Linked DNA regions of Homo sapiens: all the other regions are linked to region 1. Evidence: promoter capture Hi-C in 16 types of primary human blood cells and fetal thymus (Javierre and others, 2016). All regions are on one chromosome and are shown on one strand. The core of a region is centred on a gene start or on the middle of the fragment in contact, and the rest is flanking DNA. Distances in the headings are between cores, read along the strand shown. Region 1 holds the start of NRN1L (neuritin 1 like). Region 2 overlaps PRMT7 (protein arginine methyltransferase 7). Region 3 holds the start of AGRP (agouti related neuropeptide). Region 4 overlaps ATP6V0D1-DT (ATP6V0D1 divergent transcript).

The links. Contacts are between HindIII fragments. The CHiCAGO score rates a contact against its expected background, and 5 or more counts as called.
Region 2: a fragment that was not itself captured here is called in contact with the fragment with the promoter of NRN1L in region 1 in 1 of 17 cell types (total CD4 T cells); the score reaches 6.5 in total CD4 T cells.
Region 3: a contact is called between the fragment with the promoter of AGRP here and the fragment with the promoter of NRN1L in region 1, in 1 of 17 cell types (naive B cells). The highest score is 5.2, in naive B cells.
Region 4: a contact is called between a fragment that was not itself captured here and the fragment with the promoter of NRN1L in region 1, in 1 of 17 cell types (naive B cells). The highest score is 5.0, in naive B cells.

Annotation. Positions count from the first base shown.
Region 1 is chr16:67,880,449-67,887,807 of GRCh38, reverse strand. NRN1L (neuritin 1 like) reads right to left here and starts at 2,923. Exons shown (of 3, transcript NM_198443.2): 1 at 2,826-2,923; 2 at 1,954-2,086; 3 at 1,440-1,834. The coding sequence starts at 2,904. The coding sequence ends at 1,549. It overlaps EDC4 (enhancer of mRNA decapping 4), which reads right to left. Exons shown (of 29, transcript NM_014329.5): 18 at 6,818-7,251; 19 at 6,628-6,732; 20 at 6,391-6,543; 21 at 6,275-6,311; 22 at 5,963-6,140; 23 at 5,699-5,854; 24 at 5,481-5,596; 25 at 5,214-5,379; 26 at 4,943-5,129; 27 at 4,631-4,850; 28 at 4,077-4,240; 29 at 3,309-3,852. The coding sequence ends at 3,660. RefSeq lists enhancers at 2,329-2,836, 2,837-3,346, 3,652-3,831. The HindIII fragment of the contact is 1,303 bases long and covers 2,461-3,763 here.
Region 2 is chr16:68,328,984-68,336,342 of GRCh38, reverse strand. PRMT7 (protein arginine methyltransferase 7) reads right to left here. Exons shown (of 19, transcript NM_019023.5): 6 at 7,169-7,277. It also overlaps the pseudogene RNU4-30P. Among named protein-coding and RNA genes, the nearest start is that of PRMT7, 22 kb to the right of the region's middle. The HindIII fragment of the contact is 2,651 bases long and covers 1,564-4,214 here.
Region 3 is chr16:67,480,474-67,487,832 of GRCh38, reverse strand. AGRP (agouti related neuropeptide) reads left to right here and starts at 4,286. Exons shown (of 4, transcript NM_001138.2): 1 at 4,286-4,316; 2 at 4,432-4,564; 3 at 4,723-4,808; 4 at 5,015-5,262. The coding sequence starts at 4,435. The coding sequence ends at 5,197. ATP6V0D1-DT (ATP6V0D1 divergent transcript) reads right to left here and starts at 6,439. Exons shown (of 4, transcript NR_184227.1): 1 at 6,314-6,439; 2 at 3,505-3,723. ATP6V0D1 (ATPase H+ transporting V0 subunit d1) reads left to right here and starts at 6,676. Exons shown (of 8, transcript NM_004691.5): 1 at 6,676-6,876. The coding sequence starts at 6,747. RefSeq lists a silencer at 6,396-6,565 and enhancers at 6,676-6,725, 6,886-7,125. The HindIII fragment of the contact is 2,406 bases long and covers 3,974-6,379 here.
Region 4 is chr16:67,496,957-67,504,315 of GRCh38, reverse strand. It overlaps ATP6V0D1-DT (ATP6V0D1 divergent transcript), which reads right to left. Exons shown (of 4, transcript NR_184227.1): 4 at 1-291. Among named protein-coding and RNA genes, the nearest start is that of AGRP, 17 kb to the right of the region's middle. The HindIII fragment of the contact is 7,622 bases long and covers 138-7,359 here.

The DNA of each region.
Region 1 (7,359 bases), core at 1,674-4,173:
GATCGAGACCATCCTTGCTAACACAGTGAAACCCCGTCTACTAAAAATACAAAAAAAATTAGCCAGGCGTGGTGGCGGGCGCCTGTAGTCCAAGCTACTCGGAAGGCTGAGGCAGGAGAATGGTGTGAACCCGGGAGGCGGAACTTGCAGTGAGCAGAGATCGCGCCATTGCACTCTAGCCTGGGCGACTGAGGGAGACTCTGTCTCAAAAAAAAAAAAAAAAGAAAGTAAAGAATAAGGCCAAACATGGTGGCTCACACCTGCAATCCCAGCACTTTGGAAGGCCGCGGGGGTCAGATCACCTGAGGTTAGGAGTTCGAGACCAGCCTGGCCAACATGGCAAACCCATCTCTACTAAAAATATAAAATTAGTCGGGCATGGTGGCGGGCACCTGTAATCCCAGCTACTAGGGAGGCTGAGGCAGGAGAATTGCTTGAACCCGGGAGGCAGAGGTTGCAGTGAGCCGAGATTGTGCCACTGCATTCCAGCCTGGGTGACAAGAAAAAAAAAAAAAGTAAAGAATAAAGTGGAGGGAGTGATAATAGAAGTCAATGAGGAGACTATGGCAGTGCCTCTGTAAACCGTGGGGTAATGGCTTGGAATAGGATCCTGGCGGTGGTGGGAGAAGGCTGATCAGAAGAGGGTCCTACCCCCAGAAGGCTTTCTCCTTCCTCAGATTCCTCTGCCTAGCTGATTTTGCTCTTCCTTTCCACCGGTATGAAGAGGGGCTCCTCGCACACCACATGCTCTTGTTCCACGGCTTCCAGAAAGCCTTCTGCAATTGTTTTGACTACACACTGCCTACCTCTTCTCAAAGAACAAGCTTGTGGAGAGCAGAGGCCAGAGGAACCCTTATGGTGACTCCAGTTTTTGCCACTTCAGGTCACATCAGGGGCTTGAATGTGGACTTCAACAAAGGCTCCCCACCTTCTAGAACAGGCCTCCCTCAGATAGACCAGAAAACCAGAGGAAGGGACTGAGCACATAGTCTGTGCTATGCCTTGAAGGCTGAGGTGACAGGCAGAGAGAGGAGGAGGTGAAATGGTCAGGAGCCCAGAGGCTGGGGAGGGGGTGGAGCTGAGATCAAGGGCACTTCACCAGCTCACCTGGCCCCCAGGGGCCAGGATAGAAGGGGTAGGCAGTGCTAGGAGTGCAGGGCTGAGACCCCACCCTCCCGATCTCAACCCGCACAGGAAGGTAGAGGAAGACTGTGCATTCTGGCAGATCTCCAGTCTCCACTGGAGGAGCTCTTGGGGCCTGCATGAAATGGAAAGCTTTGCGCTGCCACTGGGAAATGAGTGTTTGTAAGGAGGAAGATTGAGGGCCCCTGTGGTGGCCCTCAGCCCCGCCCATTCCATCCAAGCAAAGGATCAGTTTCTAGGAGTCCCTGGCCCCAGCCGCAAGCAAGGCCACAGCCAGGAGAAAGGAAGGAGCTTACTACAAATATAAATACCTTTAATGAAAAGCCCTGCTGCGCTCTGCAGAGCCTGGACAACCACCGCCAGAGCAGGGCTGGAGGTACGGGCGCTGCTACCCAACCCAACAAGCTAGGCCAGAGGCCTCAGGAGGTAGGCCAGAGCCAGAGCAGCCGCCAGCAGTGGGGGCGCAGGGGCCATGGGGAGTGCAGGCGCTGTAGCCCGCAGCGTCTCCTGGTTGGTTTCGGAGCCTGTGCCGCGCTCCCGAACATGCACCGGGGCACCGCACAGAGTGTGCAAGTTATTCGGACGGGGGGCCTGGCGAGCTTCTTGCTGTAGTGATTCCCACACTGCAGCTGCCTCCTCCGGACAGCCTGACAGGACCTGAGAGGCACAGGCATGGAAGTCATTCCAAGACCTGTTAAGGGAGTGGGATTAGGGGGATTAGGTGAGGCAAGGAGACTTTAGCTTGGGAAATAAAAGGTTCAGTCCCCAATGGTGGCACAGGTTGGGCCACTGCCTCACACCCGCCGGTACCTGCAGATGGTCTCCAGCTCGCCTCCGCGGCCCATGCTGTCCCCCAAGCGGATGAGACACTCGGCGAAGCCCTGGTATATGGTGTCACATCGGTTTGGGCCCGCTGCAGCTGCTGCCAGGGGAGGTAAAAGGACTAGAAGTGGGGCGGGGGTGGGGTGGGGAAGGAATGGTAGATAGGATGAGCCAGGCTCATCCCCCAGCCCCCAGGGGCTTGTTTACCTGGGAGCACTCTGGGGATGTGACTCAGCGGAAAAAGGGTGCCCCAGGGAACTAAAGGGCAAGTCTGGGGATTACCTACCCAGGCCCCCTTCAAGGTAGGACCCAGACTGGGATTTGTACAGGGGAAGGGGGTGTTGTGTACCCCAGGTCAGCTCTTCCTTTGAGCTTCTGGGGCCGCAGGTGGGGTGACAAGGGTCCATGTAAAGGAGTCAGGACAGGGTGGAGGGGAGGGAGGTCCAGAGGCCCCGGACCAGGAGCAGGTGCATCTCTCTGCGGTTTAGACAAGCTTTGCTTGGCCCTCCGAACTCTCTCTAAAGATAAATATTTTTGGAGAGACAAGGCAGGATGCAGAGGTATTGGGATCCAGGCCAGACCCTCAGAGAGGACTTAGGGATCCTACGACTGGTCTATAAGTCCTGCCATTGGCATGTCTCCCTTTATCATAAGAGGGGATGCAAATTTTGGAGTCCTTCTCCCATAACTGGGGCTGTTTGTGCCTCTCACTTTCTGTCCTGAAGTCACCAGCACACCTTCCTGGAGCCCTTACAACTCTTCTCCACCCTGGCACCCAGCGTTCCCACACACCCTATGCCCAGCCTGGCTTGGCTGGGCGAGAAGGGGGTGTGGCCCGGGCCCCGGATGCCCGCACTCACCGAGGGGCAGCAACAGCAACGGCCTCAGGGCATGGGGTGGTTGCCGGCAGCAGCAGCGGCGGCGGCAGCAGCGCATCATCCCTGGCTGAGAGCCTAGTGCAGGAGCTAGCTGCTTGGAGTGCAGCCCGTCCGCCCAGCCCCCGGAGGGAGGGACGGTGATTGGATGGGAGCTGGGGGTGGGGCTCCGAACCCAGCCGGCGGCTCCGCCTCCAACACCCAGATGGGAAAAGGAGCGAGGAGACCTCAGAGAGCAGAAATTCGCAGGAGCACAGGCTGGTGCTGGGCAGGCCCCTGGACCCTCACTCCATAGAAGGAGGGAGAAGGGAGATCTGGGAAGGCAGTTGGAGCAGATGAGTGGGTAACCCGGCCCCTTGGCTGGGTTGGCCTCGACAGAGCTCCACGGGCAAGAGATGGGCAGAGAACGAACAGACGGCAGTTATGAGAGTCACACCAAAGACAAACCAAAAGCACACACATACTCCATTTTATTCCAAAAGCATTTAATTGAATTTCTCAATGTTTTTCAAAAACAAAAAGATCCAAATTAGAGGTAAAAAGGAACATGGAAAATTCCACTCAAGTGGTGTCACGATCTCAGGGTCATGCTCCAGGCATGGCAGAACCCAAGCAGGCGCAATACCTGCCCTGGGCCCAGCTAAACCTTCTGACTACCACACGCTGTAGACCACGGCCAGTGCTCCCTGCTCCCTGACCCCCAAACACCCCAGAGATGGGGGCCTGAGCAGGTAAAGGCCAGCCGTGACCCTGCCCCAGCCTAGGCCTGTCTGCTGGCCTTCAGTGCCATCCCACCCCTGGGCAAGGCAGGCTTAGCAGCTAAGGGAGGCTGGGGGTCACGAGGCCATGCAGCATGAGGCTGAGACGCCGAGCTGCTTTGCCAAGTGAGTTGTGTGGCTCAGCCTGCAGGAACTGAAAAAGCTTTTGGCGCACCTGGGCCATAACGGAGCCCATGTGGTCCCGAGTGATGGGGTCACTGTGGTCCAGGTGCATCACGGCCTCTTCCAGGTAGCTGGGGATGGGGGGGAAAGGACAGGCTACAGGTGGGTGCCAGCAGACGGGAGCGCCCCCTGGTGGCACCGAGGCCCAGAGGGAACCCTCTGGGTGAAGGCAGAAAGGACTGGTGGAGAAAATTAGGGAGAGGATTCAGGCAGAAGTGGGCGTCAGCTTCAAACTGCTCCCTCCCACTGCCCCACTCCCCAGCTCATCTCCCCATCCCTGGCTGTCCCCACTTACCTGAGCTTGAGGTCAGTTCGAGTGCCAAGGTCAGATGCCAGCTGCTGGATGAGGGAAAGGAGCACAGGCTGGGAGAGCGGGCAGGGTGGCTGCCCAAAAACCTGGGCTGGGTCCACAGTTTCACACACATACAGCACCAGGTTCAGGTCAGCAGCTGTCAGCGCCTGGAGGAGAAAAAAGCAGCAGTGTTTATAGCAAATATCAGGATGGAATGTCTGCTTGTCTGAACTGTGTGGCCTGGGGGAGGATGACCACAGGGTGGGCTAGTGAGAGCTCCAGAGGGACTCAGAGAGAGCCTGTAGGGCTGTGTAGTTACCCTAGGGGATTGGGAAATGGGTTCCTGAGAAGGGTAGTTGTAAAGCAAGGTGGGCTAGGTGGGAAGAAAGGGGTCCAGGAAGAGGAAGCAGCAGGGACAATGGCCTGGAGGCCAAAGGGAACCAAGAACAGTCTGCTGGGGCCAGAAGGTGCAAAGGTGGTGGGTGGAGTAGAATGTATGGTATGTGGGCCTTGTCAAGAGACACGTGACCCTTAGCAGGGCCTAATGCCTATCGTACCTGCTGGAAGGCCTGATTGAGGTGGCCCTGCTGCAGCAGCTGCAGGATATGGGCTTGCTGGGCCTGGCAGTCAAGGTGGGCAGAGGGGACAGGTGTGCCAGCAGCTGAGCGCATGGCCTGCATGATGCTGGAGGTGACGGCGGCCTGCTGCTCCTTGAGCGCCACACTCACCTCACCCTTAACGATGCGCTGTACCTGTGCTAAAATGGACTCCTGCAGGCTGCAAAGGGAAGTGAGTGAGGTGAAGTGGACAGGGAGCCTAGTCTGGCCTTTCTCAAGCCCACCACCTTGCCCAGTACTCTGCCCACACACCTGCCCACAGCCACATGCAGCTGGTGCTGCACCTCAGCACGAACACTGCCGGCCACGGTGGCTGCCATCTGCTCAGTGGCACTCTGCAGTGTGCTGACCAGGCCCCGCAGCTGGGCTAGCACAGGCTCCCTGGCCTCCTGTTCCCGTGCCTTCCGGCTCTTCATGTGGCTTTCTAGCTGCTGCAAGTCTGAGGGGTGACCACAGGGACTATAAGAGGAACAGTAGGAAAGAGGATAACCCCTCCCACCTTGGGCCATATGACCCCACTCACATTCCTGTGTCCCCAGCCGGAAGCTATCATTGATTTGCTGGAACATGGCCTGGCAGCTCTTCTCAAAGGCCGGCAGCACCACACTCTGGAAGGCTTCCCGGTAGGCAGCCTGCATCGGCCCTTGTAATGTGTCTGCAGCTGCTCGGGCGATGGCATCAGTCAAGTTCTGGGGTTAGAGGGAGGGGCCAAGTTGAAAGCCTGAGCCCAGCCTGGCCTGACTAGGCCCAGGAACCACCACCTCCACCCACATCTTGGGCCCTATAGCACCTTGGACTTGAGCAGCTTGGAGATGTTCTCTTTCATGCTGCCCTCCACAGCTGTGAGCTTGGTAGCCACTGAGTTGCTCAGTTGGCCTGCCATAGGCTCCAGACTCCTTGAGACACCTGGGAGAGGGGAAGAGGGTGAGGTGGAGCCATGAGAAGAAGCTTGACAGGTACCCCACTCCCACCTGAACCACCCAAAGGGAGTCTGCATGCAAAACTCACATGGAGGGACTGTCTTCTTGATCTCATCCCGTATGCTGCGCTCTAGCCGCCCAGCTACAGCTGACGACAGTGCTTGGGACAACTGTTGTGTCAGCTGCTCCTGCAGCTGCCCTCCCCGCTGCTGCCCCTCAGCCAGTGCTCGCTCCAGCCGCCGCTCTGCGCCATAGCTAAGGAACGGGCCTGGAGCAGGTCGTGTACTCCTTCCCAGGCCAAGAATGCTGCCCCCGTCCCTATGCCATGTTGTGCTACCAGTCTCAAGGATACGTTCCTGCTCGTGCCGAGTCTCAAGGGCACGTTCTACGTGGCCTGTGACTGTGCTCTGCAGGCCTTCGAGTTGGGTACACAGACGCTGCAGCAGCTCTTCCTGGCTGTGCCGCAGCTCTGCCAGCTCTCTCTGCTGTTGCCAAATTAGTGCTGGCCAGTCCTCAGGGGGCTCTGCCACCTGTCAGTAGCACTGACAGTCACACGATGCCTGCCCCACCTATTCCCACACACCAGACCAGGGAATGGCCCAGAGCCCTTCTCCACCCGCCCAGGGTGAAGTTCCACAAGTACAAAGTGGGCTCATTCACTTACCTGGTGCTCTGTGAGCCGGGATCCCATGGCTGCATCCCTGCCATAGGCGAGAAGCACCTCAGGCTATGTGAGGCAGCCTAGAGACCACCCTCTCCCTCCCTAGGATTTCTCCCTACCCATCATCCTTCTTGCTTTTCCTCTTGAGCTTGGGTGAGGTTCGAGGGGATCCCTTGGTCTTCCAGTCCTTGGCAGGCAGCCGTGGAGCAGGAACTTTGGTGCCAAAGCCTCCTGAAGCAGAGGCAAGGCTGGCCACCTCATCATCATGGTCACTGTGGGAAGGGGAAGGAGGAGTAAGCCCCTGCCCACTTGCTGCCCATCCCCCCATGAGGGCAATGGTGTAGAGTGGCTCCCACCTTTGCTCAGCACTGGCATCCTGGCTGTCACGTTGCTGCAGCAGGTGATATGGTGGTCGGTGGAAGGCCAGGCTCTTGTGCTTTTCCTGAAGGCCATTCCTGGGGCTGGGAGGACAGGCCAACTTAGCCATGGATGAATCTATCTGAAGCCCCTCCTGCTAGCACACTTTTCCCCTCCCAAGCTCCTCACCTTTCTGCCAGGGTGCTGCAGGTCTCACGAGTAATGTCAGGTGCTGTGGGCCAAACCTGACTGTCAGGAGTCGAGGCCTCCTGGGTCAAGGCTGCCTCCAGGAGGGAGGGGGTATTATGCCGATCTCCATCCCCAGGGCCTCCATCAAGCCCGAGCTGGGGGCCGAGCTCGGGCCCTGGCCGGGGCCGTGGGGACAGCAGGTGCAGTGCCGAGGCGGCTGAAGCCATACTGTCTGGCTCAAGGCCCTCTGGTGCAGAGGAGCCAAAACCACGGGACAGGGCCTCAGATGCAATCTCAGGGATGTCCTGGGACAGGGCAGTGGAAGCTGAGGAGATGACATCAGGGGAACGAGTGCGGCTAGGGGAGGCTTGGGGTAGCCCCAGGGGCTCCACTTCCTGCAGCTCCAGGGACAGTGCAGAGGTGGCAGTAGGCACCTGAGGTGGGCCAAAGATGGGGGCTTAAGTGACAGGAAGTGAGGCAGAGATGGGGGGCACAGAGACGAGGCATTAGTATTAGCAGTAATGAGAGACAGGGCAGCAGGG
Region 2 (7,359 bases), core at 1,640-4,139, 450 kb before region 1:
TTAGAGAAGAGTAGGATTTGGGAGGGATCTTCTGTTAACTGTTTTCTAAACCTCAGTAATGTACTGCTACTTCTACAATTATAATTTTTAATGAGCCAAGAGCCAAAATAGACTTTGGAAGGGGCTATTCATCAGGGAGAATTAACTGTAAACACTTTTAATGCCTCATGAATTATAATCTGACAAAGCCCACTCATTTCCCCTACACAGAGCACAAGTCTCACAGATGACACAAGGAAAAGAGAAGCATGAAAGCAGCTGACAGGGGCCGGGCGCGGTGGCTCCCGCCTGTAATCCCAGCACTTTGGGAGGCTGAGATGGGCAGATCACCTGAGGTCAGAAGTTTGAAACCAACCTGGCCAACGTGGTGAAACCCTGTCTCTACTAAGAATACAAAAATTAGCCAGGCGTGGTGATGGGTGCCTGTAATCCCAGCTACTTGAGAGGCTGAGGCAGGAGAATCACTTAAACCTGGGAGGCAGAGGTTGCAGTGAGCCGAGATCACGCCACTGCACTCTAATCTGGGCCAGAGTGAGACTCCATTTCAAAAAAAAAAAAAAAAGAAAGAGAGCAGCTGATAGAAGAGCACAACAGAGACAGCGTGAACCTCGAGCTCGAGGCTGGAGCCTGGCCTGGATCTCACTTCCTATCCCTGAGCCCTCCGTTCTGACCATCAGTTGCCTCATCAGTAAAACGGGTGAATGGGCTCTGTCTCATGTGGTGGTGGTCGGGATGATGAAGATAAAAAAAAAAAAGCACACTTCCTATGAAGCTCACCTGTGCTCCATGACAGTATCACGTGGAGGAGCTTAAGAAGAAACTTCTGTCTTCTGCCACAGAGACCACCCTCCCGAGAAGCCCTGCCCATCCTCTCTGATGTCACATCAAACTCCAACTGGAATACACTGTCCAAAACTCATCCCACCCACCCCAGCTAACACGCCTGCTCCTCCCTCCAGGGTTTCTGCCTCAATCAATCAATGAGTCACATAGTCCAGGAATCTGGGCATCATTTACTAGTTCCAGGACAGCAGGACCGCTGACTGCCTGTCCACTACTGTACCCCAGCACCCACAAGGTCTAGTGCCCCGTAACAGTCAACACACATTAGATAAATTATTGATTTCTGTCACCCTACAACCCACTGATCACCCACTCTGCCAATTCTATCTCCTGAATGTTTAAACCAATTATATAACTTAAAATGCTTTATAGTCCAAATTGCTTCATTAAAATAAAAATCAAGAGCCAGGCACAGTGACTCACACCTGTAATTCCAGCACTTTGAGAGGCCAAGCTGGGCTGATCACTTGAGGCCAGGAGTTCGATACCAGCCTGGCCAATGTGGTGAAACCTTGTCTCTACTAAAAATACAAAAATTAGCCGGGTGTAGTAGCACGCGCCTGTAGTCCCAGCTACTCAGGAGGCTGAGGCATGAGAATTGCCTGAACCCGGGAGGCAGATGTTGTAGTGAGCTGAAATTGCCCCACCATACTCCATCTTGGGTGATACAGTGAGACTGTCTCAAAAAATAATAAAAATTAAAAAAAAAAAATTCAAGCTTTATGGTCCAGTGCATTTTAACAAGTACTTCTTGAGGGCCTGGTATTTTGAGTGTGACTGCTAATGTATAAGGGCACGGGGTGGGGGAGTCTGAAGCAGGTAGCCACCCCAGGAGCTTCCTAAGCCCTTTCCAAATGAACAAAATGGACGGATGAACACACGCTGCTCCCTGGGTTGGCTCTCCACAAGCCTCAGCATGTAACCCAGCTCTGGGGAACAGGCAACTTCAGATGCCACTTTTAAAAAGGGCTGAGAGCAGAACCTTGGAAAGTATACATCTGGAGCAGAAAGAAAGCAACACAGGAGAACCAAGATGAAGAGATGTCACTAAGGTCCAGGGAGAGTTTCAAGAAGGAAGGAATGGCAGAAGTACCAAAGCGGCAGTGGTTAGAGAGGAAAAGCAGAGGAAAGACCACCCAACTTGGCAATGAGGAAGCCACTTGTCAGGCTGAGGATCGGAAACAAAGTCACATTTACAAGGGATTATGGATGAAGCACAACTGACAATCTACTCACTTTACAAAAATTACCTAACTCCTTTACATGACAGGCCCGGAGCAAATAACGGAATGGAATAGTTAATACAACCCACGCAGTGCATGACCTCAGGATGCCTCAGCTGGGTGGGGATACAGACATTAAATACATAACTACATAATGATTTAATGATTGCAGTGGTAAGCGCTATGAAGAAAAGTATTACGAAATTGGCCAGGCGTGGTGGTTCATGCCTGTAATCCCAGCATTTTGGGAGGCCAAGGCAGGCAGATCGCTTGAGGTCATGAGTTCAAGACCAGCTTGGCCAACATAGTGAAACCCCATCTCTACTAAAAATACAAAAATTAGCCAGGTGGTGGTGCATGCCTGTAATATCAGCTACTTAGGAGGCTGACGTGGAAGGATCACTTGAATCCGGGAGGTGGAGGTTGCAGTGAGCCGAGGTCATGCCACTGCACTCCAGCCTGGGCGACAGAGCCACTCTATCTAAAAAAAATTTTTTTTTTTAATAAGAAATCATATGAGGGGCCTGGCCTAAGCTGAGGTGTGTGTGAACAATGCTGCCTGGAGGCAGAGTCAGCATACTTCATGGCCAAGGCTGCCCTGCAGATCAGTCTCCCTGCCGTCAAAATGGATAAATTTTCAAGAATAAATGATCTCGCCAGGTACAGTGGCTCCCATCTGTGATCCCAGCACTTTGGGAGGCTGAGGCAGAAGGACTGTGTGAGGCCTGGCGTTCAAGACCAGCCTGTGAAACAAAGCGAGACCTAGTTTCTTTTCTTTTCTTTTTTTTTTTTTTTGAGCCAGAATTTTGCTCTTGTTGCCCAGGCTGAAGTGCAATAGCGCAATCTCGGCTCACCGCAACCTTTGCCTCCCAGGTTCAAGCAATTCTCCTGCCTCAATCTCCTCAGTAGCTGGGATTACAGGCATGCACCACCACACCTGACTAATTTTGTATTTTTAGTAGAGACAGGTTTCTCCAAGTTGGTCAGGCTGGTTGCTACTCCCAACCTCAGGTGATCCGCCAGCCTCGGCCTCCCAAAGTGCTAGGATTACAGGCATAAGCCACTGCACCCAGCCGCAAGACTTAGTTTCTAATAAAAATTTAAAAAAACAAAAAAATTAGTTGGGTATGGTGGCGCCTGCCTGTGGTCCCAGCTACTCAGGAGGCTGAGGCAGGAGGATCACTTGAGCCCAGAAGTCGAGGCTGCAGTGAGCTGTGTTCGCATCACTGTACTCCAGCCTAGGCAACAGAGTGAGACTGTCTCAAAAAAAAATAAATAAATGAATCAATCTCCACTCTGGCCATAGTGGAATAAGTGGGATCAGGCTTACCCTCCGGCTGTTATCAACTAGAAAACTGGGCAAAATATATGAAACAAGTGTTTTCAGATGTTGAGCAAGAGGCAACACAGTTTGCTCCCTAAGAAGGGAAACAAACCAAGTAACCCTTACCCTGCTCTGGCTATCAGCCAGGAGACCCTTTCCAGACCACAGTATAGGGTAAGAGGTGACACAGAGCACGGCAGTCTTGCTGAGTTAAACAGACAGGAAACGAGTTCAGGGAAGTGGAAGCAGCTGGAACTTGCCAGGCAGAGAATCAGAGAGGAAATTACACAGAAAAAAAGCCTTCAGAATGCTGCACAGGGTTCCTCTAGGGTCTGTGTTAATACATTCACACACACACAGGGTAATACTCTGTGAAGCCGAGCAAAGGTTGCATGAGTGATAACAATCTCCGGAGCTCTCAGAGGCCTGGGAAACATTCAAGTTCTGATCAGCCAGACAAGGGAAACCCTGCTGAGCACCTAGAGCTCTCAGCAGACACTCCAGAAAGGTTACAGTAACTGTCTGGCTAAACAGCCTTAGAGCAGTGGTTCTCAACAGGTGGCAATTTTACACACTCGAGACCAAGGAAGACGTGGCAGTCTGGAGACATTTTTAGTTGGCAAGAATGGTGGGAGGAGGGGAGTGCTACTGACATCCACTGGGAAGAGGCCAGGGACACTGCTAAACATCCTACAATGCAAAGGACAGGGTCCACAACAAAGAATTATCAAAATGTCACATAGTTGGAGAATGCCAAAACGTCACAGCACTACTGTTGAGAAGGCCTGACTTAAAGCTACTCTAACCCCACTCCAAAGAAAGCTTAAACAAGCCCTGAAAGGATCAATCTGAACTGCAAGTAACCCAACTGCATGCCAAAGTTTAAAAAGCAAAACCAACGAAGTCTAGCACTCAACAATGGGGAATTCCAAATAGCCACAGCATCCAAACAAAAATGGTTAGACATGTGAAGAAGGAAAATGTGACCCAGAATAAGGATAAAAATGAGTCAAGAGAACAAACCCAGAAAAAACAAAGATGGTGGGAACAGAAGATAAGGATGTTCAAAAAGCTAAAATAAATGTGCTTATAGAAAACTATGAACATGAGAAAAATGGAAGTTATGAAAAAGAATCAAGTGGAACTTTCAGAGATTAAAAAATACAATATCAAAAATGAGGCCAGGCACAGCGGCCCACGCCTGTAATCCTAGGACTTTGGGATGCTGAGGTGGGAGAATCGCTTGAGCCCAGGAGTTTGAGACCAGCCTAAGCAACAAACTGAGATCCCATCTCTACAAAAAAAAATTTTTTTTAAGTTAGCCAGGCATGGTGGCATGAGCCTGTGGTCCCAGCTACACAGGAGGCTGAAGCAGGAGGACTGCTTGAGCCCAGGAGGTCAAAGCTGCAATAAGCCATGCTCACACCCCTGCACTCCAGCCTGGGGGACAGGTCAAGATCCTGTCTCAAAAAAAAAAAAAAAAGAACAACAAAGAAAGAGAAATGAAAAGTTTACTAAATATACTTAACAGCATATTAGATGCTGCAAAAGAAAAGATCAGTGAATCTAAAGACCTATCCAAGAAATCCCTGTCCATCAACAGGTAGAGAGATAAACAAGTTATGGTACATCTATCTAATAGAGTGCTGCTCAGTAACACAAAAGAACGGACCCCCAAGACATGAACAGTGTGGAAGAATCTTACCAGCATCACGCTATAAAAAAGAGAGCACACACACAGAAGAGTCCACACTTCTTTGATTCCACTTCCTTGAAATCCTAGACAGGCAAATCTAATCTATAATGAAGTCTATGAGTGGGTGCCTAGGACCAGGATATGGGGGGACTGATAGAAAGGGTTATGAGGAATCTCTTTGGGCATGATGGAGATGTTCTATTATCTTCATTATGGTGATGGTGGTTACAAGTGTGTTTATATTTGTCAAATATCCATAATGAAAATGGATATTCATTTAATGTAAATCATACTTCAATAACGTTGATTGTAAATGGAATGATTTGAGCACTCTATTGTATATTTTAAAAATAAAAAAGATAGGCCGGGCGCGGTGGCTCACACCTGTAATCCCAGCACTTTCGGAGGCCGAGGCAGGCTGGTCACCTGAGGTCAGGAGTTCGGGACTAGCCTGGCCAACACGGTGAAACCCCGTCTCCACTAAAAATACAAAAATTAGCCAGGCATGGTGGTGCACGCCTGTAATCCCAGCTACTCATGAGGCTGAAGCAGGAGAATCGCTTGAACATGGGAGGCAGAGGTTGCAGTGAGCTGAGATCCTGCCATTGCACTCCAGCCTGGGCAACAGAGTGAGACTCTGTCTCAAATAAATAAATAAATAAGATAGTACCCACTTCTTTTGTACATGTTTCAGATTCTCCATTAAAAAAAAATTGTTAAATGGGAGAATAATGTTGACCTTAGGTAGAAGCTTCAATTCAGAATGATACTGCATTCTCCAAAACCGTGGTGAAAAAGCCAGGTGCAGTAGTGCACACCTGTAGTCCCAGGTACTTGGGTCGCTGAGATGGGAGGATCACTTTAGCATAAGAGTTTGAGTCCAGCCTGGGCAACATAGTAAGACCCTATCTCCACAAAAAATTAGAAAAAACCCATGGTGTTATCCATAACTTCACCACAGTTTTTCCTTTGCAAATCTTTCAACTATGTTCTCTAAGTGTCAGTGGCATGTGAAATTTTCAAAGACTGAAACAAAGTTCTAGACTATAAAAAATATTCTGGAGGCCAGGCATGGTGGCTCACGCTTATAATCCTAGCACTTTGGGAGGCTGAGGCAGGCGGATCACCTGAGGTCAGGGGTTCAAGACCAGCCTGGCCAACATGGTGAAACCCCGTCTCTGCTAAAAATACAAAAAGCAGCCAGGTGTGGTGGCAGGCACCTGTAATCACCGCTACTTGGGAGGCTGAGGCAGGAGAATCACTTGTACCCAGGAGGTGGAGGATGCAGTGAGCCAAGATTGCACCACTGCAATGCAGCCTGGGTGACACAGTGAGATTCCGTCTCAAAAAAAAAATATGTGTGTGTGTGTGTGTGTGTGTACATATACATATTCTGGAAACCTTAAGAGACAATGCTATACAGGAAAATTGTTCATGTTGTATGCAGAAGCAGAATGTCAGAACTACTCTCGCCATTCTCCTGCCTCAGCCTCTCCAGTAGCTGGGACTACAGGTGCCCACCACCATGCCTGGCTAATTTTTTGTATTTTTAGTAGAGATAGAGTTTCACCGTGTTAGCCAGGATGGGTGAACCCAGGAGGCAGAGCTTGCAGTGAGGCAAGATAGCGCCACTGCACTCCAGCCTGGGCGACAGAGTGAGACTCTCTCTCAAAAAAATAAATAAATAAAAGAACTAAGTACTTTCTGCCTGATGAAACTCAGAGTTGAGCTTTGAGCAGTGGCAGTATCGTAGCCAATGAGGTTTATCCAAGGCGTAATTATTGGTAGTTGAAACTCAAGAGTTGAGCCCCATAAGAATTCCAATTTGCTTAAAGCAAATGTAGGTTTTGTTTGCGTCTCCATTGCTGGACCTGACTAGCTCTAGTCTACTCCTTGTTGACTAGTTTTAACTAGCAGGAAAATAAACATCAAGAGAAACCAAGTCCTTACTGTCAGAGCTCCACACAGAGAGGTCCCACTTCTATGCTATGACCTGGATTTGTTCCAGGTAACTGGAATAACCCTTTTCCTCTCTCACACAAGAGCAAGCAAAGCTTTCAACACAGGGTGTGTAAATCTCACCTGGACCTACAGTCACCTCGGTGGAATGCTTGTTGATAACCTTAATCTTATCACTAAAGCCATTTTTCTCCACAATCTTCACAGCAGCATCAGCCATAGGCTTGAAAACCTAGAAAATAGAGCCGAAACCCAAGGAAAAATGAGCAATAAATTAAACAGTAGTCTGACCTTTAAGGTGAGCAAGCTATTCC
Region 3 (7,359 bases), core at 3,037-5,536, 400 kb after region 1:
ATTCAAGTGATCCTCCCACCTCAGCCTCTCGAGAAGCTGGGACTACAGGCTTGCGCCACCATGTCTAGCTAATTTTTGTAATTTTTGAAGAGACAGGGTTTTGTCATGTTGCTCAGGCTGGTCTGGAACTCCTGAGCTCAAGTGATCCACTCGTCTCGGCCTTCCAAAGTGCCAGGATTACAGGTGTGAGCCACTGTGCCTGGCCCAATTATATCACTATAATGTTATTATCCATTTTGCTGTTGATGGATATTTGGATTGTTTCCAGTTTTCTTTCTTTTTTAAAATTTTTTATTTTTTTAAGACAAGGTCTCATGTGCATAAGCTGGAATGCAGTAGTGTGATCATGGCTCACTACAGCTTTAACCTCCTGGGATCAAGCGATCCTCCCCACCTCAGCCTCTGGAGTCACTGGGACCACTGATGTGCACCACTGTGTCTGGCTATTTTTAAATTTTTTTGTAGAGATTGGGTCTCTGTATGTTACCCAGGCTGGTCTCAAACTCCTGGGCTCAAGACAGTCTCCCACCTCGGCTTCCCAAAGTGGTGGGATTACAGGCATGAGCCACGGCACCAACTTTCTCTATCTTTTTGTTTTATTCCAACCCTCAAAGGATTGGATGATTCTGGAAACACCCTCACAGGCACACCTAGAAATAATATTTAACCAGATATCTGGGCATTCCTGGCCCAGTCAAGTTGACACACAAAATTAACAATCACAGATCCTCTCTAGCTCAGGGCTCAATACACCAGCCCGAGAGAACCCCCATCCATCTTCTCCTCTCCCTGAATGACTGAGGAGACCGTGCCTCTCCAGGCAACCTCTGCCTTAGGAAATCCTACAGATGATTCACAGGAAACACATGGCTGTGCTCTCTGGGGCAGGGGCAATGGGCTGGGTAGGGGTTTCAAAATCAACCCTGATTGACAGAGCCACGGGTGCTTGCAGTTTTTCCCTGCACCCCCCACCCTCTCCCCTGGACAAGGTGGGAACAGGGCCCTTGAAGGGGAGTACACTGCAGGAGGAAAAAGAAGAGAAGGGAGAGGGTTTGAGCACCCCTCTCTGTCCTCATGTGGTCTCTGGAACGAGCATGCACACTCTCCCCTTTCTCCTCCCTGCACAGAGTCCCTGTGTTCCGGGCCCACACCCTCACTTAGGAGGCTCTGCCTCCCCCAGGGTTTCCCAAATCCTCCTCCCAGAACATGCCACATATTTCTGAAGGTCCTTTTGCCAACAAGCATTGTCCTGGGAATATCAGGCTGGTTCCTTACCGTAAAATTACCCACATAGTGAAACTTTTTTTTTTTTGAGATGGAGTCTCACTCTGTTACCAGGCTGGAGTGTTACCAGGCTGGAGTGCAGTGGCACGATCTCAGCTAACTGCAACCTCCGCCTCCTGGGTCCCAGTTCAAGTAAATCTCCTGCCTCAGCCTCCCAAGTATCTAGGATCATAGGTGCGTGCCACCATGCCCAGCTAATTTTTGTATTTTTAGTAGAGATGGGGCTTCACCATGTTGGCCAGGCTGGTCTTGAACTCCTGACCTCATGATCTGCCCACCTTGGCCTCCCAAAATGCTGGGATTACAGGCGTGAGCCACTGCATCCGGCTGTGAAACTTTTTTTTTTTTTTTTGAGAGAGTCTCGCTCAGTCACCCAGGCTGGAGTGCAGTGGCGCGATCTCGGCTCACCGCAAGCTCTGCCTCCTGGGTTCACACCATTCTCCTGCCTCAGCCTCCCAAGTAGCTGTGATTACAGGTGCCCGCTATGACGCCCGGCTAAATTTTTTTTTTTTTTGTATTTTTAGTAGAGATGGGGTTTTGCTGTGCTAGGCAGGATAGTCTCCATCTCCTGACCTTGTGATCTGCCCACCTCGGCCTCCCAAAGTGCTGGGATTACAGGCGTGAGCCACCGCACCTGGCCTTTTTTTTTTTTTTTTTTAATGGGGACTGGGTTTCGCCATGTTGCCCAGGCTGGCCTCGAATTCCTAGGCTCAAGTGATCTGCCTGCCTCAGCCTCCCAAAGTGCTGGGATTATAGGCGTGAGCCACCACCACCATGGCTCACTGCAGCCTCAATCTCCTGGGCCGAAGCTATCCTCCTCCCTGTCTCCTGAGTAGCTGGGACTACAGGTGTGCATCACCACATTCAGCTAATTAAATTTTTTTTTTTTGGTAGAGACAGAGTCTCACTATGTTGCCACTCCTGGGCTCAAGAAGGTGTGAATCACTACACCTGGCCGTTTTTTTTTTTTTGTTTAGTTTTGTTTTTGTTTTTTGAGACGGCAACTTGCTTTGTCGCCCAGGCTGGAGTGCAGTAGCGCGATCACAGCTCATTGCATTTTGGCGCTGGGTTTTCTTGATATCTCCCCCACTGGACCTGACCGGGGCATGGGCTGCCCTGTGAGTGCCTCAGCCCTCGTCCATCACTGCCCATGGGGCTGATACACCTGTGTGCACACACTCAGGTGAAGACAGCTGCTGCCCGTAGGTGAGGTAAGACACTGAGCACCTGTGTGGGAGGAGATCTTCCACTCCCACTCTGTCCACACCAGACCATGAAGAGCTCTCCATAGCATGGGTGCTGACCAGGCCCAGCCTGGGTGACAGAGTGAGACCCTGACTCAAAGAAAAAGACATAATGAGGTGTGATTTTAATTTCTTGGATGTCCCAGTATATATAAATGTTGGGAGTATGGATTGCTTCATTTCATTTTAAATAGCATTTTTTTTTTAAGATGGAGTCTCACTCTGTCACCCAGGTTGGAGTGCAGTGGTGCGATCTCTGCTCACTGCAGTCTCTGCCTCCCGTGTTACAAGTGATTCTCCTGCCTCAGCCTCCCGGGTAGGTGGGATTACAGGCATGTGCCACCATGCCTGAATAACTTTTGTATTTTTAGTAGAGATAGGGTTTCACCATATTGGCCAAGCTGGTTTGAACTCCTGACCTCCAGTGATCCGCCCACCTTGGCCTCCCAAAATGCTGGGATTACAGGCGTGAGCCACCGTGCCTGGCCACCCTTTATCTTCTTTTCTTTTTGAGACAGGATCTTGCTCTGTCGCTCAGCCTGGAGTGTGGTGATGCAGTCATAGCTCACTGCACTCTTGAATCCCTGTGCTCAAGCCATCCTCCCACCTCAGCCTCTACTACAGGCATGCACCACTACACCCAGCTATTTTTTTATTTTTTGTAGCAACGGGGTCTCACCATGATACCCAGGCTGGTCTTAAACCCCTGGCCTTGTGATCCTCCCACCTTGGCCTCTCAAAATGCTGGAATTACAGGTGTGAGCCACCATACCTGGCCCCCTTCATCTTTTTTCCACTGCCTTGTGCCAACCCAGTTTGTGCACTGGGGCCTTGCGATCCTCTCAAAGCTGATTCAGCCTGCATTCCTTTCCCAGATGGACACGTGTGTGATAAACAGCTCTGCAGTGGGGTGAGGGAAGGCAGGGGCAGCAGGGTCCTGTATGTCCTGCCATCTCCACAAAAGGGCAGTCCTTACCCCAGCCTTGTGCTGATGAGACCAGGCATAGACAGTCCTGACGACACAGGGCGGAAGGGAGCAGCCATTAGTGCTAATGAGGCAGGCGGCCTGAAAGCTTTGTACTCTGCAGTGGCTCGCCCACCCAGGGAACAGTTCGTTCTGTTTCCTTGGCTTCCAGGAACCCTAGGCAGAAAGGGGTTTGGGGACAGGAGCAGGAGTGGGCGGTCTTGGAGAAACCTGGAGGGAGAAAGGGAGGGGAGGACCAGAAATGTAGTCAGGAGGGCCTAGGATTGGTTAGGTGGGCTTTTCCTTCCCCTTTCCCTCCAAAGAAACCCAGGTTCTGGTTCTGCACCTACCCCTGCCCAACAGTGGCCATTGGCCCATCACCCGCTCCAATGTCCTTGACCCGAATTCTTGGAAGCACAGGAAACAACATGCCACATAGGGGTTGAGTAAGCATCTCTGGGGCCACAAATTAAATTAAGCTTTCAGGGCCGCCTGCCTTGTTATTGCTAATGGTTCTAGCCCTGCTCAGCTCCTAGGTCCCTGTCCTGTGGAAATTTGTGGACCCTGGGCACCCTCTCTTGCTCCCAAATTTTAATCGGCTCCTGGAAACCTCACCCCAAATTGGAGATAGGCACTCCTCTTGTAGAACAAAAGGCTCAGGTTCAGGGAGTGAGGGCCTGAACTGTGCCCCCACCCTCCAGGAAGGGTCCTTCACGGCCTGGCTGCAGGGATCAGTCACGTGTGGCCCTTCATTAGGCCCTGCCATATAAGCCAAGGGCACGGGGTGGCCGGGAACTCTCTAGGCAAGAATCCCGGAGGCAGAGGTGAGTCCTCAGGTTGGGCAGGGACTCCTCCTCTCTGTGGGGTCTCTATCTGGGCACCTAGAGGGGACTCCAAGGATAAGGAGGGACTAAGTGGTACATCTTCCTGCTGAGCCAGGCCATGCTGACCGCAGCGGTGCTGAGCTGTGCCCTGCTGCTGGCACTGCCTGCCACGCGAGGAGCCCAGATGGGCTTGGCCCCCATGGAGGGCATCAGAAGGCCTGACCAGGCCCTGCTCCCAGAGCTCCCAGGTCAGTGTGAGCAAGGGTGGGACTGGGCGGGGCCTGAATACCCTCTGGCCACAAATAGTCTCCCCTGGCATAAACCCTCTTTCTCCCTTCCCAAACCCTCCCCTGGGAGGTGGGTGCTTTGTGCATGGGGGTTCCTGCCCTCACATCCTCTGCCCCAGGCCTGGGCCTGCGGGCCCCACTGAAGAAGACAACTGCAGAACAGGCAGAAGAGGATCTGTTGCAGGAGGCTCAGGCCTTGGCAGAGGTAACTGCTCAGGGAAAAGGGTAAGGTGGTGGCCCTTGGGAGGGGGCATTGGGTATTAGCTCCTCTCCCCAGCTCCAAACTCCCTCACCAGCGACGACACTACCGACCACCCCTTCCCATGCTCCACTGCCATCCTGCACAGGTTGGGACAGGTAAGATCCCTGGATCTGTCTTTAGAGGCCTGTGCTGGTTCCCCACCCCTGCAGGTACTAGACCTGCAGGACCGCGAGCCCCGCTCCTCACGTCGCTGCGTAAGGCTGCATGAGTCCTGCCTGGGACAGCAGGTGCCTTGCTGTGACCCATGTGCCACGTGCTACTGCCGCTTCTTCAATGCCTTCTGCTACTGCCGCAAGCTGGGTACTGCCATGAATCCCTGCAGCCGCACCTAGCTGGCCAACGTCAGGGTCGGGGCTAGGGTAGGGGCAAGGAAACTCGAATAAAGGATGGGACCAACCCCAAGGCTGTGGTTATTTCAAACGTGGCCGTCAAAGGAGGGAGGGTTCATGGAGGGGGTGGGAGTGTCACCAAGCCAAGAAACCACACATACTCTTATCCCAGGGCCTGGGCTACCCTATCATAGGAGGCACATACACGGGCGCTTTTAGGGGTCCTGGTGCCCCTGGGAAAAATAGAGAAGAGCCGCACTCCAGCTTTCGAAAATCTTGTACAGCAAGTGCGGGGAACGCAGGACGCAGCGTGGCACAGGGGCTATCACTCCTGGCTAACAAATAAGCCTTAGGCTCCAGGGCTTGCTGCTACTTCCACGCAAAGCCTGCCCCTCATCCTGTTACCAGAGGGAAGGCCAGGAGTGTGCGTTGTTCAGGTCCTTAGCGTTTCGAACAAAGAATTGAACAAAACCCAGAAAGTAACAAACGAATGACACACAGGAAGGAAGCAGACAGCTGGGATTTGTTAAAGCGAGAAAGCACTACGCAGGGTGGGAGTGGGCCTGAGCAAGAGGCTGAAGGGGCTCAGTTACAAAGTTTTCCGGGTTTTAAGTACTCCTTTTGCGGTCCCTGTCCGTTACCCCTTATCTGGATGAAGGGTTTGGTCCATGGCTAATTAATCCATTTATGCCTGAGGTTGCAATCTTTTTGAATTTTTGCAATCAGACCTTGGCCATGACCTTGAGCAGTAGGATATAAATAACTCCCATATGCTTAGCGTTCCAATAATGGAACACAAGGCATAAATGGGGCTAAGGTGAATTGGCGCCCTATGCAGATGAAGGGATGGCCCGTGCTTGGCCCGCAGCCAATCCAAGGCACTCTCCCTTTCAACTGAGACGTGGTGGAAGGGGGAGGGTTGTGGGGACAGTGGCCTTTGATCCTTTGTTACTTGGACATGGGGAGATGGGGTTTTTCTTTTTGGTTTAGCTTTAGTAAGCTCGCCTTAGTTGGCCTCCGGTTCCCTGCCCCCAGACCTTGGTGTTTTCCCTTGATTCAGCTTCAGAATTCAGCACGTATTGGCCTCAAGTTCCCCGCCTCCAGACCCTATTCTCCTACCTCAATCGGACCTCAGTTTCCCTCTGGGGAGGAGGCTGGCCCAGCAGTCTGGAAACTTTCCAAGCTTGAGAAGGGCTCGCTCCCTTCTTTACCCCGCCCGCCCTGCAGCGTCAAGTGCAGCAAACCGGGGAAAGCTAGAGAAGGCCCAGTCAAATCCCTGCGGCCACAGGCGCCACCAAGCGGCCGGCCTCAAACTTCCTCTTTTTAGCGCGCAGGCGCCGCAGGGCCAGCCCACGCCTGCACCGCGCTTCCGCGCAGCCACCCGGAAGCCGGGCACCGCTCAGAGCCACGCCCCCTTATGGTCACGTGAGGCGCTTGCGCGTCACCTGACGCACTTGACAGCCCGCTGAGGACGCAGCGTCAGCTGACCTGGGGAGTCGCGATTCGTGCCGGCCGGTCCTGGTTCTCCGGTCCCGCCGCTCCCGCAGCAGCCATGTCGTTCTTCCCGGAGCTTTACTTTAACGTGGACAATGGCTACTTGGAGGGACTGGTGCGCGGCCTGAAGGCCGGGGTGCTCAGCCAGGCCGACTACCTCAACCTGGTGCAGTGCGAGACGCTAGAGGGTGAGCCGGGGCCGCGAAAGGCGGGGATAGAGGCTGTCCGGGGCCTGAGGGTTCAGAGGTGTAGGCCGGGAAGCCGGAAGGGGGGGTCTTGAAGGGCCTGAGAGGCCTCTCTGGGAATCCTGGGGCTGATAGCGGACGCGCAGGAGCGGGATCTACCTCTAGCTGTGGCTCGGCGCGGGCCCAAACTCAAACAAGGCTTTAAGAACCGCAGTTGTTCGCCTCTGCTTGGGCCACCTTTTCTCTCGCTGTGCTCACCCTGCAGTTTGGGAGGAGGGGGTGTTTCGGGGGTAGTTGGTCGGTGCGAGGTGTGGCCATACAAACCTCTTTACCCTGACGTAGCCCGAGAGCTGTCGCGTAGCAACCCTTAGGGAAGCTAAGCGGAAAAGTCCCCCACCTCTTCCCCCTCCCCCCGCCAAGACACTAAGGTCTTTGGGATCATCGTGTCTTCGCGTTGGCCTGCGGGGTGAGCCTTCCTGGGGAATT
Region 4 (7,359 bases), core at 2,699-5,198, 380 kb after region 1:
ACAAAGCATCATTTCAATGATCAGAAGGACAAAAGAGAAAGATAAACATTACACCCCATGGAACCTCCTTGAACTGTGTCACCACCCGCGAGAAGCATAGTGAATTCTCTCAAAAAGTTTCTTTGCATCTCTAAGCTTACATCTACATCTATTTTTTGGAATGCAGTTGGGGTCATATTATGCATACTGTTCTATAAATCCGGAAGGAGGGGCATTAAGTAGACAAGATGATATGCAGAAGCAGATGGAAGGTAGAAAAACTCCTCTGCATGAATTCAGGGCTCCCTCTGGCTGAAAGAAGAAAAAGAAGAGCGTGGCTGGGGATGTGGCCGTAGAGCAATGACAGTCAGGCCTAGCCTCCCAGCAGCACGCAGGAGAGGCAGCCAGACCCCCAGATGGACTGCCCAGTCCTCACAGGCAGATAGGGTGTGGACAGCCTCACAAAAATGCCTGGGTCCCCAGCACTGCAGAGTCTTCAGCAAGTTGCTGGGCCTAGAGTCGTGACGACTAGGCATGGTGGCCTTCTCAGTGGTCATCTGTGAGGACACATAACCATGGACTAATTCCCCTCCTACCCTCTGCGTGGCATAACCCTGAACAGAGAACAAACACAAGAACAAACCTAGTGCCAGGAGTGGAACCCTGCCTGTTTTTGTATAACCCACAAGTCAAGAATGGTTCCTTCCTTCCTTCCTTCCTTCCTTTCTTCCTTCCTTCCTTCCTTCCTTCTCTTTCTTTCTTTTCTTTCTTTCAGAGGGTGTCTTGTTCTGTCGCCCAGGCTGGAGTGCAGTGGTGTGATCTTGGCTCACTGCAACCTCCGCCTCCTGGGTTCAAGCGATTCTCCTGCCTCAGTCTCCCAAGTAGCTGGGATTACAGGCATCTGCCACCACACCTGGCTAATTTTTGTATTTTAGTAGAGACAGGGTTTCACTATGTAGGTCAAGCTGGTCTTGAACTCCTGACCTCAAATGATCCATCCGCCTCGGTCTCCCAAAGTGCTGGGATTACAGGCGTGAGCCACTGTGCCCGGCCTTATTGATTGATTGATTGAGACAGGGTTTCATTCTGTCATGCAGGCTGAGTGCAGTAGTGGGATCACAGCTCACTGCAGCCTCAACCTCCTGGGCTCAAGGGATCCTCCAGCCTCAGCCTCCCAAGGATTTTTTTTTTTTTTTGAGTCGGAGTCTTGCACTCTCGCCCAGGCTGGAGTGCAGTGGCGCAATCTGGGCTCACTGCAAGCTCCGGCTCCAGGGTTCAAGCCATTCTCCTGCCTCAGCCTCCTGAGCAGCTGGGACTATAGGCGCCCGCTACCATGCCCGGCTAATTTTTTGTATTTTTAGTAGAGACAGGGTTTCACTGTGTTAGCCAGGATGGTCTCAATCTCTTGATCTTGCGATCCGCCTGCTCGGCCTCCCAAAGTACTGGGATTACAGTCATGAGCCACCATGCCTGGCATTTTTTTTTTTAAACCAACTAAGAAGCACTGAAGTTTTTCTAAAGTTTTTACATTTCTCTCCTTCTCCCTCCATCTCTCTTTTTCTCTCTCTCTCTCTCTTTTTCCAAGATATGGTCTCCCTCTGTTGTCCAGGCTGGAGTGCAGTGAGCTCCTGGCCTCAAATGATCCTCCTGCCTCAGCCTCCCAAAGGGTAGGGACTACAGGTGCGCACCACCACACTCAGCTAATTTAAAATTTTTTTTGTAGAGATAGGGTCTCCTGATGTTGCCCAGGCTGCGTCTCCAACTCCTGGGTTTAAGTCATCTTCTTGCCTTGGCCTCCCAAAGGGCCAGGATTACAGGCGTGAACCACAATGAAAAAAAATCGAATGGAGGCTATTTTGTGACACATTAAAGTTATCTAAAATTCTAATTTCAGTGTGCAGACATGGAGTTTTATTGAAATGTAGCCTGGTTCATCTGTTACATGGTGCCTGTGTCTGCTTTTGGGTTCCAACAGCAGAGTCGAGTTGTTGGAACAGAGATCGTAAGTGGTGCTCTCGTCACTTTTCTTTGCTGCTCAGTGCACTATAAATTGCAGTTTTGGGCCGGGTGTCGTGGCTCATGCCTGTAATCCCAGCACTTTGGGAGGCCGAAGCAGATGGATCACCTGAGGTCAGGAGTTTGAGACCAGCCTGGCCAGCATGGTGAAACCCCATCTCTACTAAAAACACAAAAATTAGTTGGGCATGGTGGCGGGGGCCTGTAATTCCAGCTACTTGGGAGGCTGAGGCAGGAGAATCGCTTGAACCCGGGAGGCAGAGGTTGCAGTGAGCTGAGATCGCACCATTGCACTCCAGCCTGGGTGACAAGAGCGAAACTCCGTCTCAAAATAAATAAATACATAAATAAATTTCAGTTTTGAAGTTACAACTTGATAGTTTTGTTGTTGTTGTTGTTGTTGTTTGAGATGGAGTCTTGCTCTGTCGCCAGGCTGGAGTGCAGTGGTGTGATCTCGGCTCACTGCAACCTTCACCTCCCAGGTTCAAGCCATTCTCCTGTCTCAACCTCCTGAGTAGCTGGGATTACAGGTGCACACCATCACGCCCACCTAATTTTTGTATTTTTAGTAGAGAAGGGGTTTCACCATGTTGGCCAGGCTGGTTTCAAACTCCTGACCTCAGGTGATCCACCCACCCTGGTCTCCCAAAATGCTGGGATTACAGGCATGAGTCACTGCACCTGGCCACAACTTGATAGTTTGGAGTACCAAATGTATCATCATACAATGACGATTTATTTTATTTTATTTTATTTTGCTTTATTTTTGAGACAGAGTCTTACTCTGTCCCCCAGGCTGGAGTGCAGTGGTGCAATCTTGGCTCACTGCAGCCTCTGCCTCCTGGGTTCAAGCGATTTTTGTGCCTCAGTCTCTGAATACCTGGGATTACAGGCACGTGCCACCATGTTTGGCTAATTTTTGTATTTTTAGTAGAGACTTGGTTTTGCTATGTTGGCTAGGCTGGTCTTGAACTTCTGACCTCAGGTGATTCACCCACCTCAGCCTCCCAAAGTGCTGGGATTACAGATGTGAGCCACTGCGCCCGGCCTATTTTATTCCATTACCAGTTCATACCTATCATGTGAAAAGAAGAAAGTAGGCTGGACGTGGTGGCTTACACCTGTAATCCCACACTTTGGGAGGCCGAGGTAGGCGGATCACCTGAGGTCAGGAGTTGCATTCCAGCCTGACCCACATGGTGAAACCCCGTCTCTATTAAAAATACAAAAATGGGCGTGGTGGCGGGCGCCTGTAATCCCAGCTACTCAGGAGGCTAAGGCAGGAGAATCACTTGAACCCGACAGGCAGAGGTTGTGGTGAGCCGAGATCATGCCATTGCACTCCAGCCTGGGCGTCAAGAGTGAAACTCCATCTCAAAAAAAAAAAAAGAAGAAGAAGAAGAAGAAAAGGGACAAGAGTCAGTCATTATACTGGGGACCTGCCTTATGCTGGAGCCTAGAGATCTTAGGGCTTTCCTGACTTTCCAAGGATGGGATTCAGTATGGCAAAGGCAGAGTGGGATACAAGTGAGTGGGATGGGGGAATGGAAAAGGATTAACTAGGCTGCTCGTAGGGCCTTAGACAAAGGTGCTTCCAGGTCTGGTCAGCTGCTTGGGGAAGCCCACGAGGGCACCACGTGGCCCTCCCATTCGATAACATCCCTGTTCCTTTAGTCATGCCAGCATCGAAGCATGGACTGGATGGACTCTTGTTATCATCATGAGGACTGCAGAGCACATGACATCCAAGGACACAGCTGAAATCTCCATGCCACCCATCACTTTATCTTGGTGGCAGCAGGAATGAGGACCTAATAGGAAATCAGCTCACCCAGGCAACCCCATGCAGAAGGTTTTCCCACTTTTCCCAACAACCACCAGTTCTGGAGCCTATATCCACCTATTTGTTCAAGACATCCTACCTGCTTTCCCTTCTTTCTTTCCTTTTTTTTTTTCTTTTTTTTTCTTTTTTTAGATGGAGTCTTGCTCTGTCACCCAGGCTGGAGTGCAGTGGCGTGATCTTGGCTCACTGCAACCTCTGCCTCCTGGGTTCAAGCGATTCTCCTGCCTCAGCCTCCCGGGTAGCTGGGACTACAGGTGTGCACCACCACACCCAGCTATTTTTTTTTTTTTGAGATGGAGTTTCACTCTTGTCTCCCAGGCTGGAGGGCAATGGCATGATCTCAGCTCACTGCAACCTCCGCCTCCCAGGTTTAAGCGATTCTCCTGCCTCAGCCTCCTGAGTAGCTGGGATTACCAGCATGTGCCACCACCATGCCCAGCTAATTTTGATATTTTTAGTAGAGACGGGGTTTCACCATGTTGGCCAGGCTGGTCTTGAACTCCTGACCACAGGTGATCCACTCGCCTTGGCCTCCCAAAGTGCTGTGATTACAGGAGTGAGCCACTGTGGCTGGCCCCGGCTAATTTTTTAATATATATATATATTTTTATAAGAGACAGGGTTTCACCACGTTGGCCAGGCTGGTCTCCAACTCCTGACCTCAAGTGATCTGCCCACCTTGGCCTCCCAAAGTGCTGTGATTACAGGCATGAGCCACCATGCCTGGCCCCTTCTTTTTTTCTTGCCTTTCCTCATCAGCTTGGACCCCAGGGTCGAGACCTACAACCTCCCTCTGGGTCATTATCTAGGGCACCATGCCCAGTGGTAGTATGTGTCCCTCCTGTCTATGACATGCCTGATCGGGGTCCACCTCATGTCCCATTCTCTCTCATACTCCATTATCAGAAGAATGAAGTGCCAGGGAATAGGCAGCAGGTGGCCTAGTGCCTCATCACCCTGTGATATCCACGGATCTGCTGTAACCTCAGTCTTCAGTTGGGGGTTGAGCATGGGGTGATGAGGGTGCATTCATAGTCCAAAAAGCAAGAATCGTATCCTAAAGTGGTGACTCAGCTTGGCCCTGATCAGGCCAGCAGCATCTGGGCTGTGCAGTATTTGGTGGAACCAGTGATTTCTATGTCATGTGTCTGCTGCCAAGGGAATAAGGGGAGGGAGGATCAGGCAAGGGCCTGAGGCCAGCTCTGCCTCCGCTCCACGTGCTGGCCCAGAATAGACCCTGCCCCTGGTCTGATGCTCTTCCTCCATCCCCAGGGTCCTCAGGCAACGGGGGAAAATGAGCAGGGCCAGGTTGGGGAGGGAGTCTGGCCCCAGTGCTCCTGACACTTGCTCCCCAGCTGAGAAAAGTAGACTTTTCTGTGAAATGAGAATATCATCATCTTGGTTGCCAGGTTTAGATTTGCCAAGAATGGGAGGCTGAGGCCTTGTTCCTTCTTGTCTGCACCCCCTCTCCTCTGTCCTAGGCCTTTGGATCACTGCTGAGGAAGGCTTCCCAAGCCCACCCCCAGAAAGAACTGAGCTTGGCCAGGTGCAGTGGCTCATGCCTGTAATCCCAGCACTTTGAAAGGCTGAAGCAAGAGGATTGCTTGAGCCCAGGAGTTCAAGAGCCTGGGCAACATAGCAAGATCCTGTCCTTAAATTAAAAAATTAAAAAATATATATATATACACATATATATGTATATAAATCACGCCCTTGCCTGATCCTCCCCCCAACCTTATTCCCTTGGCAACAGACACATGACAAAAAAAAAAAAAAATGTAATCCCAGCACTTTGGGAGGCCGAAGCAGGTGGATCACCTGAGGTCAGGAGTTTGAGACCAGCCTGACCAACATGGTGAAACCCCATCTCTACTAAAAATACAAAATTAGCTGGACATGGTGGTGTGCTCCTGTAATCCCAGCTACTCAGGAGGCTGAGGCAGGAGAATCACTTGAATCCAGGAGGCAGAGTTTGCAGTGAGCCGAAATCGTGTTATTGTACTCCAGTTTGGGCAACAAGAGCGAAACTCCATGTCAAAAAAAAAAAAAAGGCCAGGTGCAGTGGCTCACACCTGTAATCCCAGCACTTTGGGAGGCCGAGGCAGGCAGATCATAAGGTCAGGAGATTGAGACCATCCTGGCTAACACGGTGAAACCCCATCTCTACTAAAAATACAAAAAGTTAGCGGGGCGTGGTAGTGTGCGCCTGTAGTCCCAGCTACTCGGGAGGCTGAGGCAGGAGGATGGCGTGAACCCGGGAGGCAGAGCTTGCAGTGAGCTGAGTTCACACCACTGCACTCCAGCCCGGGTGACAGAGCGAGACTGTCTCAAAAAAAGAGAAAGAAAGAGAAAGAGAGAAAGAAAGAAAGAAAGAGAAAGAAAGAAAGAGAAGGAAGGAAGGAAGGAAGGAGAGAAAGAGAGAAAATAAAGAACTGAGCTGGGTATAAGCCACTGTCTTCAACCTTTGCAGCACTACAGGCTCCACGACAGAAGTTCTGAACTGGGACTGTTCAGACAATGTGTCTTGTCTTACCACTGTAGAAAGGTGACAAGAGCAGGAGGACCTGGGACTTGGTGTATTTGGGGCCTCCCTGGGTTGGCCACAGCTCTTTCCAGCTCATTCCTCTTGTAGGCTGCCCTGAACTTGCTAACCCAGGGCCAGACTCTGGCCTATGATGAGGAAGCCATCCTGTGTGCTGGCACTCACCCTGGCTGTTCCAGTTTGTACCTTGGGAGTCAGTTTTCTGACCCCCAATGTTATGTCCGAGCTGGAATCTGAGGACAGGGCTGCTCAGTTGGGTTCTCAGGAGCCTGGTGAAGATATCAGGTCCAATGGGGCCTATGACCTTGAACTCCATTTTTTCAGGGCTGTCAATAACAGGAGGAGCATAGGTTGTCATTGGGTGAAGTTGCCCAAGATGGTTGCCTAGAAGGAGTTTAGGGGGTTGGATCCTGGGGTCCAGGCCACAGATGGAGGCTGCAGAGAGTGGAACTTGGGAAGCCAGTGCTGGAAAGGTGGGAGACTCTGGAGAGAGGAGTGAGGGGTGCTCTAGAAAAGGTGATGGGTTGGAGGAATCATAGGAATCCCTGGGGTGTCCACATAAGTGTCATCTCCTGACATGGGGAAGTGGTGGGTGGCATTCAGACCCAGCTTCTCTGGACCCTTCCTTGACTTTGGTTCACCCTGCAAGTACGGCTGTGGGCCGGCCTGTGGCCAGGTGGTCTTAGCTGGACCACGAGGGCTGTGTGCTTTGCAGGCCCCAGTAACAGTGACAAAATCCATTCAGGACATGCTGAAGGCAATAAGGTGATGGCTGGGCTCACAGAAAAAGAGGCGGGGGCCTTCCTGGACTAGGAAGGCTGAGTCATCTCCTGGTGGGTATCTCCAAGGAGTGGACCAGACCACAGGAGCCCCAAAAGACCCAAATTCTTTGTGTTCAATACCCAGCCTTCACATCAACCCTGCTCCCTCCACCCCCAGGTTCCTAGTAAGCCCTAAGCATTTGCACCAGGCTCTGGCA